Linked DNA regions of Homo sapiens: region 1 is linked to region 2. Evidence: promoter capture Hi-C in human tissues and cell types (Jung and others, 2019). All regions are on one chromosome and are shown on one strand. The core of a region is centred on a gene start or on the middle of the fragment in contact, and the rest is flanking DNA. Distances in the headings are between cores, read along the strand shown. Region 1 overlaps LINC00592 (long intergenic non-protein coding RNA 592). Region 2 holds the start of KRT18 (keratin 18).

The links. Contacts are between HindIII fragments. The study calls those that stand out against the background at their distance.
Region 1: a contact is called between a fragment that was not itself captured here and the fragment with the promoter of KRT18 in region 2, in 2 of the 25 tissues and cell types used here (IMR-90 fibroblasts and lymphoblastoid cells).

Annotation. Positions count from the first base shown.
Region 1 is chr12:52,212,752-52,216,946 of GRCh38, forward strand. It overlaps LINC00592 (long intergenic non-protein coding RNA 592), which reads left to right. Exons shown (of 5, transcript NR_027358.2): 3 at 1-276. LINC02874 (long intergenic non-protein coding RNA 2874) reads right to left here and starts at 832. Exons shown (of 3, transcript NR_164133.1): 1 at 765-832. RefSeq lists an enhancer at 696-1,257. The HindIII fragment of the contact is 5,317 bases long and covers 1-4,195 here.
Region 2 is chr12:52,945,783-52,950,449 of GRCh38, forward strand. It overlaps KRT18 (keratin 18), which reads left to right and starts at 3,336. Exons shown (of 7, transcript NM_000224.3): 1 at 3,336-3,808; 2 at 4,546-4,628. The coding sequence starts at 3,392. It also overlaps a transcript of KRT8 not described here. RefSeq lists enhancers at 2,668-3,042, 2,731-3,324, 3,325-3,918, 3,742-4,667, 3,853-4,507 and 2 more, silencers at 1,983-2,277, 3,035-3,154, 3,165-3,244, 3,285-3,334, 3,996-4,019 and 3 more, promoters at 2,924-3,003, 2,924-2,934, 3,012-3,094, 3,304-3,365 and a cis regulatory region at 3,012-3,094. The HindIII fragment of the contact is 11,259 bases long and covers 1-4,667 here.

The DNA of each region.
Region 1 (4,195 bases), core at 1,087-3,586, 730 kb before region 2:
TGCTTCTCACCCTCCCCCACCTGCCCTCCTGGGGTACCTTTGTCTGCCACTTGCATCCTATTGGAAGCTGTCCCCAAGTGCGTGTTAGGCAGGTGGCAGGTGCTGGAGCAGAGTGCACCACCCTCCGGCGATCACTGTGAGTTGGGGTAAGAGTGGGGTGTTCCTGCCAGCCCCAGGAGAGGGGAAAGCAAGCCCCCGTCCACCCTTGTGGGTCTCTGCTCCTGGAAAAGGTGCTCTAGCAGGCTCATCTGTGTGAGTCACTGTCTTCCATGTGGGGTAAGTTGAGCCCTGCCTTTTGGATCTCAAAATCCAGGGATGCCGACATCCTGGGTCTGGAGAAGGGAGGAGGCACAGGGCAGCAGAGCCCTGGCCTGTCTTTCCTGACGGGGTATGGAGCTGGCAGGACAGGGAGGCTAGGTGGCTGGTGGTGCAGGGCGTGCCCATCCCTCTACCTCCTTCCTCACAGCCCTGCACTGCTCTGTCCCGGTCTGGCCCCTCTTCTCTCCTCACTTTTTCTTCTCTGCTTCTCTTCTCTCTCACTCCCCTCCTATCCTCAACCTTTTCGTCTCCCTCCCCGCAGTCCTTCCCTCTGCCTCCTTTATTTCTTCCTTAACCCCCTGCCCTTCCATTTCCCATCTCCTCCTCCACCCTCCAGTTCTATTCCATCCACTTGCCCCACCACAGACCCGCCTCCCTGAGTTCAAGCTGCCCATTCTTCCTTCTTGCAGCCCCTGCCCATCTGAGCAGCAGAGTTCATCCCATACCCTGCAGGGAGTCCAGCGCCACCATGATGTCCCTCTCTTCCCTCCTTGAGGCTGGCTGGGTCCAGCCTGAGCTGTGCCACCTGCTGGCTCAGGCCAGTGGGATTGTGCCTCAGGCAGGCTCCTGCCCTTCCAAGCCAAGGGCTTGGCTGCAGACCCGACAGCGGCTCCCAGAGGTGAGGCTGGGGATTGCAGCATCCTGCCAGCTGCAGTTCCCTCCCTGCTGTACTCTCGTTCCTGATGTCCTGAAGGTCCCGCTTACAAGTCTACTGGTGGGCATGAACGTGCGAATGCTGTGTGGACACCTGGGCATAGTCTGTTGTTCATGCATGCACGTGCGCATCTGGTGTGTGTGCATGATTTGAGTGTGTACCTTCTGCCTTGAGTGAGCACCACCCCTGGGAACCGCAGTGTATGTGTGAGTGCTGAGTGCACATGACTGTGCAGGTGTGTGATGGAATTCAGGCTCCTGCAGACTTTGCATATTTGTGAGTGTGTACATTTGGGAGCATGTGCGATAGCACAAAGTCATGTGTTTCCCTGAGTGCTTGGAGAAGCTTAAGTGCCCTGCCAAGTGTGTGCTTCTCTGTGCCTGGGGACACCAGTGGGCACCGGAATAGCATGAAGCCACGTGGACATGTGTGAGGTGGGAGGGGGCTGTGGGCACTTACACAAGGCTGCTTGTAGCATGCACCTGTGTGCCCAAGAGGGACTATCTGCCTGTGTGAGTTATGTGCACATGTGTGTATTCACTGCACGTGTGAGGGATATGAGACCATATCCCTGTGGCACCATAAAGGCACATGTGAGCAGTGAGCAGGGCCTGAGGAAAGCTGTCTGTGTCTGCATGAGGAGATGCATCCTCACAGGCCCAGGGTGTGGCTGTGCTGAAAGGGGACATATTTAGTGATTTATGAACTTTTAAGGAAAAGCCTCAGCCCCCATTCAGGCCCCAGACACAGTGACCCCCTGCCCCCACTGCCACATCACTCAGGCCTGACATCAGCCAGGCACCTGAAACCACAGGAATGAGAGGTGATCTCCTTGCTCCTGCCACCTCACCTGCTCACCCACTGCAGGGCTGATGCCAGGGGACAGCAAGGATGCCTCCCGAAGCACCTACTGGGTGCAGGAGTGTGCTGCCAAGACCATGCTGCAGTCCAGGCCAGAGACCCCTCTGCAGCCATGGAGGCCACGCTAGCCCCACCCGCTGGCTGAGAGAGGGTTGCAGGGAGTAGGGATACCTGTCTCTGCCTTGGTGGACTTGGGGTGCAAGTGCCCCCTTTCCCAGGCAAGCCTGACTCCTTCAGGAGAGCTGGTGGGCTTCCCAAAGTCTGCCCTCTGGGACTGACTGGCCATGAAGCAGAGGAGAGGAAGCCGTTGATAAATGTGGGATGGAGGAATGAATGAAGAAACGGTGAGGCTGGGTGAGGTGGCTCACACCTGTAATCCTAGAGCTTTGGGAAGTTGAGGCAGGAAGATTGCTTGAGTCCAGGAGTTGGAGACCAGCCTTGGCAACATAGTGAGACCCTCTCTCTGTATTTTTTTTTTGAGACAGAGTCTCAGTCTGTCGCCCAGGCTGGAGTGCAGTGGCACGATCTCGGCTCACTGCAATCTCTGCCTCCCAGATTCAAGCGATTCTCATGCCTCAGCCTCCCAAGTAGCTGGGATTATAGGATTGTGCCACCACACCCAGCTGATTTTTTGTATTTTTTAGTAGGAATGGGGTTTCACCATGTTGGCCAGGCTGGTCTCCAACTCCTGACCTCAAGTGATCCGCCTGCCTTGGCCTCCCAAAGTGTTGGGATTACAGGTGTGAGCCACTGCGCCTGGCCCAATCTCTCTCTCTCTTTTTTTTAAATTTTAGAAAAGAAACAGTGGTTCCCAGGGGTGGTGGTGGCTGGCCCCAGGGAGTGCACTGAGGGTGAGTGGATGGCTGTGCTCGGTGCTAAGAGATTGGCCTTTGAATTCACTTCTGCCTGATCCTCATTTTTCTCCTTTCTACGAAAGATCAGAAATCCCCTTCAAGTTAATTATACCAATGAAATTCAGAGGTGTGCCTGGTGCCTGGCACATGGTAGGTGCTCAGGAAATGACAGGTGTCTCCTTCCTGAGAGCTGACAGCTGTCCTGAGCCCCTTCCAGAGCAACCCCTGGACCAGCCATGAGTCAGCTATGGCTGGGCAGCAGGGATCCTCGAGTTCCTGTTCTGGAAGCATGAGTCAGGCCCAGGTGGGAGAGGAGGGAGGTCATACTGGGGTCAGATGCCGGACCCAGGCAGGATCAGACAGGCGCCTGGCTGCCACCTTATCATGATGCTTGTTGCTAGTAACTGGATCTCAGAAGATAAGGCCCTGGGGCTGAATGAAGCATTCCAGCTCTGTGGGCCGAAATGTTGTTGACATGGGCTGTACGATGCGTAGATGCTTTTCAGATAGCACAGCCTGAAAAGGGCCAGCAAGCTCCCGAAGGCATTGCCTTCACAGCTGCTTTTGCCACTACTGCTGGGGGCAGAACCTCCAGCCCTAGAGCTTGCCCAGCCTGGGGACCCCATCACCTCCATGAGAGCTCCTGGATCTAGCTTGCCAGCCCAGAGCCCATCTCTGATTTCTTGAGAGCCTCTATTCTTTATCTAGATCATAGCAGTCACCAGTGAGGACCCAGATGTGCTTTCCACCAGGCTTTGGAGAACATCTGAGGAGTGGAAATTCCTATTTTAACCCTCTTTCCCACACCTCTGACTCTTGAGCAGGGGTCCATTGTCCGCTGTTGCTGCAAACTGTGACCGTTCAGTACAATGGACAGTGCTCATGACTGGGGTGGGGTGGGGACAAGCTTCTCTGCGCTGTGCAAAAGTCAGTGTTTCAGCCACACTAGGCATGTGCCCAGTGCCCAGCTCCTTATCTCTAGGAGCCATTGTCTCACTTGTTTCTTATGGCAGATAAAGATGGCTTATCCATCTCTTAGGAACAAAGCACGCCACTTTAGACAGTCACAAACATGAACGACCTTATTTAGGAATCAGGTGCCTCAGAGAGAGCCTTTGCAGGCTGAAACATGGAGGGAAGTGGGGACTTATCTCTTTGCCCCCCAGATATGCAGAAAAAGGCAGTGCGGGAACACACACACACACAGACACACACACCTGGACAGAGAAACAAAGCATTCATTGAGCGCTTGCTGTGGACCGACCCTTATTAGGCACTGGGAGGGAGTGTATAGAAAAGTGAGTTTGCACAGCGCTTGCCTTTAGCAGCTCACAGTTGCATGGAGAAGACATGCATCAGCAAATGCTTACTGCTTTTCCATTTTTGAAATTTGTAGGACTATCCCAGGGAAAACATTGAAACTGTTAAAATATGCAAAAAGTGAAGCAGCAGCTTTGCTGTGGGGAAAAACAAACCTCAGAAACCCTTAGTGACAGGCCACTGAACA
Region 2 (4,667 bases), core at 2,086-4,585:
GTGTCTGTTCTGGGAGCTTCTCACCAGGGCCCCTCCTGCTCCACCCTTTCCCGGGACTGTCCTCACAATCACGCCATCCCCCTTTCCACCTTGCTTCCCACCCCCACCCCAGAACCCTAGTGCTGGGAATCTGGAGGCCGAGACCTTCACCCCAGCTCTCCAAGAGGCTCTCTGACAAAGTGAAAAAGCCCTGAGCCACAGAGGAATCTGGAAGTGGTGGAAAGGGGCAGGCTGGTGCTGGAAGCCCGAGGTCGGTATTTGCCCCATGCTGCAAGAAGTCAGGAATGTGGCCATCGACATCAGTAGGAGAGATAAAGTCTAGCTGGCAGCTCTCCCTCTCCAGCCCCCACGCTGCACCTCCACAGGTCCCAGAAGTTTCCTAGCAGTTGGGGTGGGGCAGGAATCAGACAAGGACCTGGGAATTAGCTTGGAGAAAAATTCTAGAATCTGTTTTGATTGCTGGTAGATTTCAAAGTGCCCCAGGGTTTTTAAATGACTCAGAGAGACAGACTTCAAACCCCTTGAGCCCGTCTTTCGAATTAAATTGACCCCCTTTATCTGCCCTCCTGTATATATTGAAGCCTTCCTTACTTTGAAGGAAGGCTCCAGTACAAATAATTAGTATTTGTTTGATGAATGAGTGAGTGACAATTTACACTCACATTCACTGCCACCTGAGGAAATAGACTGGACAGGTCTTACTGTTTTCCCTGTACAAGTGAAGAAATTGAAGTTCAGAGTTAGGTGACTTCCCCAAGGTTACACAGCTAGCAAAGTATCCAGGCTGGCTGACTTAAAGCTTAGCAATAACAGTAAAAGGCAGTACGTAGCTTGTTGACTCCACATACTTTATTATAAAATACTGCCCAACTTGACAGTTCTGGAATCCAGTGGGGGAATATAAAGGTGAAAGCAGGAGAGACCCCTCTGACTGGAACCTCTTACCTCCCAGAAGCCTTGTATGCAAAACCAGTGGGCATTCATTTGTATGTTATTTTGCATCCCGTTTGCCTCCCAGCCTTCAGCAGGCCCCGACCCTCCCCTGGCCAGCTTCCACCCTGACTGCCCCCTGGCTGGCTCCCATTGAGCACTGTGGGGCTCTCCCCACCATTAGGTGACAGATCAGGAACAATCCAGGCTCAGGCTCTTTATCTGTGCTCTGCCTCCCACCTGGCAGGTCCACTGGCCAGGCTTTTCCAGGGTCCCTTCTCTCCCAGGTCTGCCCTACTATTTGTCCTCCCCTTCCCCCTCAGCTGGTAGCTCGATAAGAATCAATAGGTCCACTCCAGAGCAAAGAACACAGCCAAATGTGTCATACCAGGCCCTGCCAGAAAAACGAGCTGCTGGAGCTGACAAACTTGAAGGCCAAACACCTAAGGGTTCCCCCCAACACTTCATTCAGCAGGGATGGTCATTCAGCTTCAGGGGGCAGGCAGCATGAAAGCCTCCCTACCTCCATCCTTCTCACACAGAGGCTGGGGAGAGCATCTTGGAGGATGCAGTCCCCTGGGGCCAGGCTTCTAATCCAGACAGCCCTTACAAGGGGGGACAGGGGAAGGACTGGCTTGGAGAAAAGTCCTAGAAAAGAGGGGAGGGGCACTGGCCACCAGGGCTGGGTCGCTGCTATGATGGTCCTAGGAGTGCCTGCCTGTCCTCTCAGGCCCCATGCGATGTAGGACACATTACTTTTATTTATTTATTTATTTATTTATTTTGAGTCAGAGTTTCGCTCTGGTTGCCCAGGCTGGAGCGCGACGGCACGATCTTGGCTCACTGCAACCTCTGCCTCCTGGGTTCAAGCGATTCTCCTGCCTCAGCCTCCTGAGTAGCTGGGATTACAGGCACACACTGTGCCTGGTTAATTTTTGTATTTTTAGTAGAGAAGGGGTGTCACCATGTTGGTCAGGCTGGTCTCAAATTTTTTTTTTTTTTTTTTTTTTTTGAGACAGAGTCTTGCTCTGTTGTCTAGGCTGGAGTGCAGTGGCATCGAACTCTTGACCTCAAGTGATCCACCCGCCTCGGCCTCCCAAAGTGCTTGGATTACAGGCATGAGCCACTGTGCCCGGCGATGTGGGACACATTATCATCTCTGTGAGAGATTTTTGGTCTCTTTTGTCACCGCCCTTCTCTCCCAGCTCCTAGAACTGGGCCTGGCTCACAGTAGGTGCTGAATGCATACTGGTTGAATTGTAAATGCTCAGGATTTGTTTAATTAAGGATGCAGGAAAGGTGATATACCGGTGTGCAGAAGTCAGGATGCATTCCCTGTCCAAATCACAGTGTTCCACTGAGGCAAGGCCCTTGGGAGTGAGGTCGGGAGAGGGGAGGGTGGTGGAGGGGGCTCAGAGACTGGGTTTGTTTTGGGGAGTCTGCACCTATTTGCTGAGTGAATGTATGTGTGTGTGCATTTGAGAGCACACCTCTGTATGATTCGGGTGTGAGTGTGTGTGAGGAAACGTGGGCAGGCGAGGAGTGTTTGGGAGCCAGGTGCAGCTGGGGTGTGAGTGTGTAAGCAAGCAGCTATGAGGCTGGGCATTGCTTCTCCTCCTCTTCTCCAGCTCCCAGCCTTTCTTCCCCGGGACTCCTGGGGCTCCAGGATGCCCCCAAGATCCCCTCCACAAGTGGATAATTTGGGCTGCAGGTTAAGGACAGCTAGAGGGACTCACAGGCCATTCCACCCGCACACCACCAGACCCCCAAATTTCTTTTTTCTTTTTTTTTTTTTTTTTTTTTGAGACAGAGTCTCACTCTGTCGCCAGGCTGCAGTGGCGCGATCTCGGCTCACTGCAACCTCCGCCTCCCAGGTTCAAGCGATTCCCCTTCCTCAGCCTCCCAAGTAGCTGAGACTACAGGCGTGCACCATCACGTCCGGCTAATTTTTTGTATTTTAGTAGAGAGGGGGTTTCACCATGTTGGCTAGGATGGTCTCGATCTCCTGACCTCGTGATCCGCCCACCTAGGCCTCCCAAAGTGCTGAGATTACAGGCGTGAGCCACTGCGCCCGGTCAAGACTCCCAAATTTCAAACTCGCCAGCACCTCCTCCACCTGGGGGAGAAGAGCATAATAACGTCATTTCCTGCCCTGAAAGCAGCCTCGAGGGCCAACAACACCTGCTGTCCGTGTCCATGCCCGGTTGGCCACCCCGTTTCTGGGGGGTGAGCGGGGCTTGGCAGGGCTGCGCGGAGGGCGCGGGGGTGGGGCCCGGGGCGGAGCGGCCCGGGGCGGAGGGCGCGGGCTCCGAGCCGTCCACCTGTGGCTCCGGCTTCCGAAGCGGCTCCGGGGCGGGGGCGGGGCCTCACTCTGCGATATAACTCGGGTCGCGCGGCTCGCGCAGGCCGCCACCGTCGTCCGCAAAGCCTGAGTCCTGTCCTTTCTCTCTCCCCGGACAGCATGAGCTTCACCACTCGCTCCACCTTCTCCACCAACTACCGGTCCCTGGGCTCTGTCCAGGCGCCCAGCTACGGCGCCCGGCCGGTCAGCAGCGCGGCCAGCGTCTATGCAGGCGCTGGGGGCTCTGGTTCCCGGATCTCCGTGTCCCGCTCCACCAGCTTCAGGGGCGGCATGGGGTCCGGGGGCCTGGCCACCGGGATAGCCGGGGGTCTGGCAGGAATGGGAGGCATCCAGAACGAGAAGGAGACCATGCAAAGCCTGAACGACCGCCTGGCCTCTTACCTGGACAGAGTGAGGAGCCTGGAGACCGAGAACCGGAGGCTGGAGAGCAAAATCCGGGAGCACTTGGAGAAGAAGGGACCCCAGGTCAGAGACTGGAGCCATTACTTCAAGATCATCGAGGACCTGAGGGCTCAGGTAAGGGGTAGGAGGGACCTCAACTCCCAGCCTTGTCTGACCCTCCAATTATACACTCCTTTGCCTCTTTCCGTCATTCCATAACCACCCAACCCCTACTCCACCGGGAGGGGGTTGGGCATACCTGGATTTCCATCCGCGCACCTAGCCACAGGGTCCCTAAGAGCAGCAGCTAGGCATGGGAGGGCTCTTTCCCAGGAGAGAGGGGGAAGGGGACAGGGTTGAGAGCTTTACAGAGGAAGTGGACAGCATGGAGGGAGGTAAGGAAAGGCCTGTAAAGAGGAGGAGACACTGGCTCTGGCGGAATGGGGACTATTGGAGGGTTAAGCGGATGTGGCTAAGGCTGAGTCATCTAGGAGTAAACAAGAGGCCTTCCTTTGGGAGGAGCCAATCCAGGGTGTAGGGGGCCCAGAGTGACCAGGTGCACTAGGGAAAAAATGCCAGGAGAGGGCCAGGAAGAGGACTTGTTAGTAGCGACTCACTTCTGGGCAGGCAGGCCAGCCAGCTAGCCAGCCTGCTGAGGCTTCCCAAGAGGGGCAGAGTGCTGGGATCTGGGAATCCAGGAAAGGAGGGAATGGGGTGGGGCTAGATGAAAAGGGATAGGTGTCCAGGGAGAGCCTCTGGCTATTCCTGGGACCAGGAAGTTTTCACTAGGATACATAACACTTTTTACACACTCACCCCACCCATCCCTGGCTTTCTATTCATGGAACAACCTCTCTCTACAATCCCTCCAGATCTTCGCAAATACTGTGGACAATGCCCGCATCGTTCTGCAGATTGACAATGCCCGTCTTGCTGCTGATGACTTTAGAGTCAAGTAAGTTTGGGGGCTAGAGAGCTGGGGGTCCAGGGGTGG